2 separate regions of the Homo sapiens genome follow, and region 2 is linked to region 1. The links are contacts of gene promoters, found by promoter capture Hi-C in blood cells and fetal thymus (Javierre and others, 2016). All regions are on one chromosome and are shown on one strand. The core of a region is centred on a gene start or on the middle of the fragment in contact, and the rest is flanking DNA. Distances in the headings are between cores, read along the strand shown. Region 1 holds the start of NKD1 (NKD inhibitor of Wnt signaling pathway 1). Region 2 has its middle 25 kb from the start of CNEP1R1.

Region 1 (3,854 bases), core at 1,042-3,541:
ATGAGAGTGGCAGTTGTCTATTTTGTTCACCGATGTATCTTAGGTGACTAAAACAATGGTTGTCACATGGCTGGCCCTTCATATTTGTTTCCAGATGGAAGACTCTCTTTCTAGTGGTGGAACATTAGTTTTGCACTGTGTTGGGACAACCTGATGTAGTGAAAACAAGCCTGGGCAATGAAATCAACAGATTGGAGTTCAGTTCCTAATTGGGTCATGGATGAACTTTGTGACCTTGGGCAAGTGAGTTCACCTCTCTGAGTTGAATAGGTTCCCTCCTTTCTAGAACAAGTATGAGTCTGCATCAGAGAGTGGTTGCGAGGGCTACACATGATGGAGGATGAGGACTGGCACATCAGAAGTACTGAATGAAGAATTGTAACATAAAAATGACAACAGTAATATATTTTTGTGGTTTCAGCACTCTTCAAATGAAACCACCTGGCCAACAGGATTTTAGTGTACCTGCTTATAACATTAGCCTTCGTTTCCACCAAAAAGGGTGTTAAAAAAGGAAGCTTGGAACATGAAAGTAAGACACTTGGATGAAGAGATTTATGACTCTGGGGGGCTGTGAATTCCTAATGTCCTTTTGAGACATGTAGATCTTCCAGAGCGATGCTGCCCAATGCAGTAGCCACTAGCCAAGTGCAAATGGTCACTTGCAATATGGCTAGTCTTTGAGATGTGTTTTAAGTGTAAAATACACACTGAATTTTAAAGACTTAGCGCAATACAAAGAATGTAAAATATCTCATTATATCTTGAAATTATACTATTTTGGATATATGGTGTTCCCTTGGTGTCTTTGGGGACTGGTTCCAGGATCCTAGAGGATACCCAAATCCCCAGATGTCAAGTCCGCTATATAAAATGTCCTGTAGTATTTGCATATAACCTACACACATCCTTCTGAATACTTTAAATCATCTCTAGATTCCTTGTAATTCCTAATACAATGTAAATGTTATGTAAATAGTTGTTATACTATATTAAAAAGTTTTTTATTCTTTATTTTTGCTGTATTATTCTTTTTGCATATTTTCAGTCCACAGATGGTTGATGCCACAGATGTGGAACCTGTGAATAAGGAGGGCTGACTGTATTGAGTTAAGCGAAATATATTATTAATATTTCATCTATTTCTTTTTACTTCTAAAAGATGTGGCGACAAGAAAATTTAAAATTACAAATGTGGCCCACATTATATTTCTATTGGGCAGTGCTGCTCTAGAGAGTCGGCAAAAAGGGCAGAATGGAGCCTCCATTATACAGATCACAAAACTGAGCACAGGTAATTCACTCCAAAGGTCGGGGCTGGTCTCACTCTGAGCTGCGGGTTTTCTTTTCCCACGCCAGAGCTGCCTGGTGCCAGGACGAGCGTAACACGGACCCACAGTGTCCCCAGAAGGGGGCAGGCGTTCTGAGAGCCACAAAGGTGGGGTGGAATCCCTTGATGTCGACCGCCACCATCCCCCTCCCCCCGCGCGACCTCCCCGCAGAGACCTCCCCAGACAAAACAAACAAACCCTTGGGTCTGGCGAACTGCAGCGGGGAGCGGAAACCAAGGAAGATCAAAGACTCAGCGGTTACCCCCTTCCGGGCCGCGCAGTTTGGCAGCGCGCCCCGACCCGGGCGGGCACCCACGGGCCCCCGGACGAGGAGATCCCAGAGACTGGCTGATAACGGGGCGCTTTGGACATTTGTCGCTGCCTGGAGAGGGCTGGGCTCACACTGGCCCGGGGTGCGCTGGGGGCTCCTCCTGGACTCCCCAAATAAGAAACTAGAGGAGTGCGGTGGTGGGGGGCGGGTCACGGGGCGGGTAATGAACACTTTCTGCAGAAGGTAGGTCGTGGGAAGACTGGGAAAAGGCAGCGCTGCCGAAGCTTGCACCTGAGCAGCTAAGGTCTCCGCTCCCGACCTCAGTTTCCCCACCTGTAAATTGGAGCCGCCGAGTCCCGCCCTGCCCGTTTAGAGAGAACGTGGAGCGGAGGGAAGTGACAGTACAGTTAGCGATGGCCGGGCTGTTCTGTCCCAATACGCCTCCTGGACAAGCCGCCCCGCCGGGTCGCCAGCCCTGGAGCTCGGCCCCCGGCCCCAGACCGCGGCAGGGAGCGCGGACTGTGTCCCGCCCCTCCCGTCAGCGCCCCGCCCTCGTCCCCGCCCTGCCCCGCCTCCGGCCCCGCCCCCGCCGCAACCAGCCTTGCCTTTGATGCGCCGCACCGGCCAATGGGCGCGCGGGGAGGCGCGGGCCGCGGCGGCGGGCTGGGGGCTCGGCGCTCCCGGGCGTCAGTCGGGCCGCGGCGACGGCGGCAGGAGCGCGTCCCGGCGCCGCCTCGGGCTCCGCTCGGCTCGGGGGCTGCTTCGGGAGGAGGAGAGCCAAGGGAGGCGCCAGGCCCGCGGGCCGGGCGCATGGCTTAGGGACGCTCCCGGCCGCCGCAGCCCCAGCATGGGGAAACTTCACTCCAAGCCGGGTCAGTGCCCCCGCCCGCGCGCTCGCCCCGGGCCCCGCCGCCGTCGCCGCCGCGGTCGCTAACTCTCTCCCTTCCTTTCTTTCCTTCTCCCGCCGCCGCGGCTGCCGCCGCCGCCGCCGCCTCGCGATGTGCCTGCAGCCGCCGTGTGCAAGCGCAGGGAGAGCCCGGAAGGTAGGGGCGCGCGGGGCGCAGACCTCGGGGATGGACGCGGGGGACACCGCGGCCGCGGCAGAACGGCCCAGCCCGCCAGGTCTTATGACCAGGGCCACCCCGAAGCCCCAGTTCCGGCCACCGGCCCCCCAAGCCCGCTCCCTGAGCAGCCTTCGCGCCCCCTCCTCTGTCCCTCCTACCCGCTCCCCGCGGTCCTGCGCTCCCACCGCTGACCCTCAACCCCTCCCCCTCCCGCGTCCCTGCCCTCGGCTCTCACGGCACCCTCTCTTCAGACCCCCAAGCGCCTCCCCGCAAGACCCTGCCCCCTCTTCCTGCCCCCCGGCCCTTCTTCCGATATCCTGGCTCCTGCACCTACTGCGGCCCCTCTCCTGACCCCCAGCCCTCTCCTCCGCAGTCCTGGCTGCCAGTGCTCCCTGGTCTGATCCTAAACCCGTCCTCCTGGGGTACTGCTCACCCCTCTTGCCCCCTTCTGGCTCCTCGCTCCTAGGGCTTCGCTGAACCCCCCTTTACTTACCCGCGTCCCTCTCTTGGCTCCTGCCCCAGCCCGCGAACCCCCTCCTGGCCCCCGTGCCGTGGTCCTTCGCCTCCCACCGCGCCTCCTTCTTCCCTCCGCGGGGGTAACTTTTGGCACCTGGAGCCAGACTCAGGGGCTTCATGTCGTCCCCGTCCCAGGTGACAGCTTCGCCGTGAGCGCTGCCTGGGCTCGGAAGGGCATCGAGGAGTGGATCGGGAGACAGCGCTGCCCGGGCGGTGTCTCGGGACCCCGACAGCTGCGGTTGGCGGGCACCATAGGCCGAAGCACCCGGGTATGATTCCCCACCCCTGCCCCACCTCCTGGCCTCCTTTCAGCCTCAGAGATGGGTCCCCAAACCCATGCACCCCAACTTTGAGCACTTTCCTGCACAGCTTCTGGGTCTGAAAATCTCTTCTCAGCTGCCCCCTGCCCCACCAACGCGACCCTCTGCCCGCATGCCTTGGAGAACCTCGAAGTGCCCAGCTGGAGGCAGAGGGCTGCCTGGGGGAAAGGTCCTAGGTGGGGAGGTGGTGAAGGTCCAGTTGATGGGGAATCGTGTCTGTACCGGCGGGATTTGGGGGCCTGCTCTGACTTCTACCTTGTTTCTGCCACCAGCATTCAAAGGTGGAGGTGGAGTAGGGGCTAGAGAGAAGGGGGTATTAGGGGTGTCTGGGTGGAAGGCAGAGCTGTGCTGG
Region 2 (3,676 bases), core at 556-3,055, 550 kb before region 1:
GGGACGTCAATCTAATGGTAAGTATCCTTAGAAGAGAATAGAAAGGAGCTGGGCGTGGTGGCTCATGCCTATAATTCCAGCACTTTGGGAGTCCAAGCCAGAAGGATCACTTGAGCCCAGGAGTTTGACACTAGCATGGGCAACAGAAAGACCCTCTCCCCACAAAAAATTTAAAAATTAGCCCAGCGTGATGACGTGTGTCCATAGTCTCTACTATTCCAGAGGCTGAGGCAGGAGCATTGCTTAAGCCCAGGGGTTCAAGGCTGTTGCGAGCTATGATCATGCCACTGCACTGTAGCCTAGGCAACAAAGTGAGACCTTTTCTCAAAAAAAAAAAAAAAAAGATAAGAGAATGGGAGAAGACTCAGGGAATGAGGTGATGTGGGTGATGCGAAGATGAAGGCGAAGGTTGTTGGAGTGATACATCTACAAGCCAGCGAATGCCAAGGATTGCTGGTAGCCACCAAAAAGTAAAAGAGAGGCATGGAACACATTCTCCCTCAGGGCTTCCAGAAGGAAACAACTCTGTCAAGACCTTGGTTTGGGACTTCTGGCCTCCAGAACTGTGAGTGAATAAATTGCTGTTTTAAGCCCGTTAAGTTCATGGTAATTTGTTGTGGTGGCCCTGGGGAATGGGTTCAGAGATAGATGGGCAAGTCAGGAAAGCCATTCTGAGGAGGTGACCTTGAAGCTAGGTTTTGGATGAGAAGTTGCCAGTCTCATGAAGAACTGGGGGAAGAGATCCAGGCAGAGAGAACAGCAAATGCAGAGACTCGGGCAGGAGAGGATTGATACATGTGAGAGCTGACAGAAGGCCAGTGAGCCTGCAGAACAGAGGTGAACATGCAGTTGCAGATGGAGGTGACCCTGGCTGTGAAGGGTGGGACGGTATCGAAGAGCATGAGGCAGGAGCATCGGGTGGGGGAGCGGGAGGTGTCAGCCATGGAGCACAAACTTTCAGTTACGCATGATGAATCAGTTCTGGGGATCTAACGTACAGCAAGATGACTGTAGCTGAAAATACTGTATTATATACTTGAAATTTCCTGAAAGTGGCCAGGCATGGTGGTTCACACCTATAATCCCAGCACTTTGGGAGGCAGAGACAGGCAGATTGCCTGAGGTCAGGAGTTTGAGATCAGCCTTGTCAACATGATGAAACCCCATCTCTACTAAAAATACAAAAAAAAAATATGTATGTATTAGTCAGGTGTGGTGGCTCATGCCTGTAATCCCAGCTACTCAGGAGGCTGAGGCAGGAGAATCACTTGAGCCTGGGAGGCAGAGGTTACAGCGAGCCGAGATCGCACCACTGCACTCCAGCCTGGTCAACAGAGCGAGACTCCATTTCAAAAATAAATAAATAAATAAATAAATTTGCTGAAAGTAAATCTGAAGTATTCTTACCAGAAAAAAAAAAAAGTCACTATGTGATGATAGGTATGTTAATTAGCCTGATTGTTGTAATTATTTCACAATGTGTGTGTGTGTATCAAAACATCATGTCCTACACCTGAAATGTATGCCTTTTTTTTTTTAAGAGACAGGGTCTCACTCTGTTGCCCAGGCTGGAGTGCAGAGGTATAATCATAGCTCACTGTAACCCTGAATTTCTGACCTCAAACAATCCTCCTTCCTCAGCCTCCCAAATAGCCAGGACTACATGTTCATACCACTACATCCGGCTAATTTTTACATTTTTTTCGTAGAACAGGGTCTCGCTATGTTGCCCAGGCTGGCCTTGAGTTCCTGGCCTCAAGTGATCCTCCCACCTAGGCCTTCCAAAGGGCCAGGATTATAGGCGTGAGCCACCTCGCCCAGCCCTTACAAATCTTATTTGTCAATTATACCTCAGCAAAGCTGGAACAATTTTTTTCAGTAAATAAAATTATGCTTGATCCTCTCAAAAAATAAAAAATAAACAGGAGAGTTTGACCTAATTTAGGTGAGGGTGTAGGTAGATAAATTTGTGTAGGAGAGTAACTAAGCAAAGGATGTTGTGGGGAAGAAAGGAATTCTAGGCTGCGAAGAAGTTTGTATAAAGGCCTTGATGCAGAAACAAAGCAGAGATTTAGAGAAACATGTATTCAAAGTGGCCAGGTTCACACATGCCCAAACTCATGCTCATATACTGTTGGAGGGAGTTTGCACCTCTTAGTCTGTAGCCCCTTAGGAGCATAGCATAGCAATATCTTTCCACAAATTTGGCAATTGTTCGTATCCCTTGAAACAACAATTGCATTGCTAGAAATCTAGTTCATATAAAAGTTTATACATTTGCACAAAGATATGTGTTCATGAATGTAATGGTTACTTTCGTGTCAACTTAACTGGGCCAAGTTATCCAGCTATTTGGAAAAACATCATTCTGCACGTTTCTGTGAAGGTGATTTGAAATGAGATTGGCATTTAAATCAGGGGACTCTGAGTAAAGCAGACTGCCCTCCACCATGTGGGTGGACTTCATCCAATCAGTTGAAGGCTTGAATCCAATGAAAGACTGACCTCCCCCCAGCTAGAGGGGATTTTCCCGCAGAAGGCCTTTGGACTTGAACTGCAACATCCATCGGCTCTTCCCTGGGTTTCTAGCCTGACAACTACCCTGTAGATTTTGGACTTGCCAGCCTCAATAATCATGTGCACCATTTACTTAAAATAAATCTCTCTGTGTGTGTCTGTCTCTCAACACACACACACACACACACACATACACACACACACACACACACATAGATTTTTATACATATGAGTATTAGGATTCTCCAGGGAGACAAAACCAAGAGGATATATATATATAATATATATATCCATATCCATATATATATATAATATATATATCCATATCCATATATATATAAAATATATACATCCATATCCATATATATATAAAATATATATATCCATATCCATATATATATATATATATCCATTCTTGCATTGCAATTAAAAAAAAATACCTGAGGCTGGGTAATTTATAAAGAAAAGAGGCTAATTTGGCTTGCAGTTCTGCAGGCTGTACAGGAAGCATAGTGCTGACATCTGCTCAGCTCCTGGTGAAGCCTCAGGGAGCTTTCACTCATAACAGAAGGTAAAATAAAAGCAGGCATGTCACATGGCAAGAGAGGGAGCAAGAGAGAGAGGGGAGGCACCAGGCTCCTTAAACAACCAGCTCTCTTCTGAACTGGTTCTTCTAACAGAGCCAGGATGAACTGATTATTGTGAGGATGGCACTCAGCCATTTATGGGGGACCCACCCCAACGACCCAAACACCTGCCACCAGGCCTAATCTCCAACAGTGGAGGTCACACTTCAACATGAGATTTGGAGGGGAAAAACATCCAAACTATATCAAAGCCCATGTTAAATTCACTCATTTTTGCTCCTAAAGTCCCTTATTTGGCTTTGTTTATTCTTTCCTCACTATAGGATAGGATGGAAATCCCTACATCCCTCCCACCTTCCCTCCCTCCCTCTTTTCCACCCTTCCTTTAACAAGCATTTATTGAGCATATATTATGTGCTAAACAATGTTCCAGGTGCCTTGGTGAACCAAACAGCCAAGATCCCCTCAGGGAGCTTTCAGGCTGTTCAGGAAGCCAGACATTAAACAAACACACACCAGTGAATCATAAACTGCCAAAAGTGATTAACAGTTGGAAGGGAGAGAACAGGGTG

What was found. Contacts are between HindIII fragments. The CHiCAGO score rates a contact against its expected background, and 5 or more counts as called.
Region 2: a contact is called between a fragment that was not itself captured here and the fragment with the promoter of NKD1 in region 1, in 1 of 17 cell types (neutrophils). The highest score is 5.0, in neutrophils.

Annotation. Positions count from the first base shown.
Region 1 is chr16:50,546,105-50,549,958 of GRCh38, forward strand. NKD1 (NKD inhibitor of Wnt signaling pathway 1) reads left to right here and starts at 2,292. Exons shown (of 10, transcript NM_033119.5): 1 at 2,292-2,474; 2 at 2,613-2,645; 3 at 3,318-3,451. The coding sequence starts at 2,450. RefSeq lists silencers at 1,935-2,384, 2,425-2,614. The HindIII fragment of the contact is 5,196 bases long and covers 1,885-3,854 here.
Region 2 is chr16:49,998,777-50,002,452 of GRCh38, forward strand. No RefSeq gene overlaps it. Among named protein-coding and RNA genes, the nearest start is that of CNEP1R1, 25 kb to the right of the region's middle. The HindIII fragment of the contact is 6,384 bases long and covers 1-3,676 here.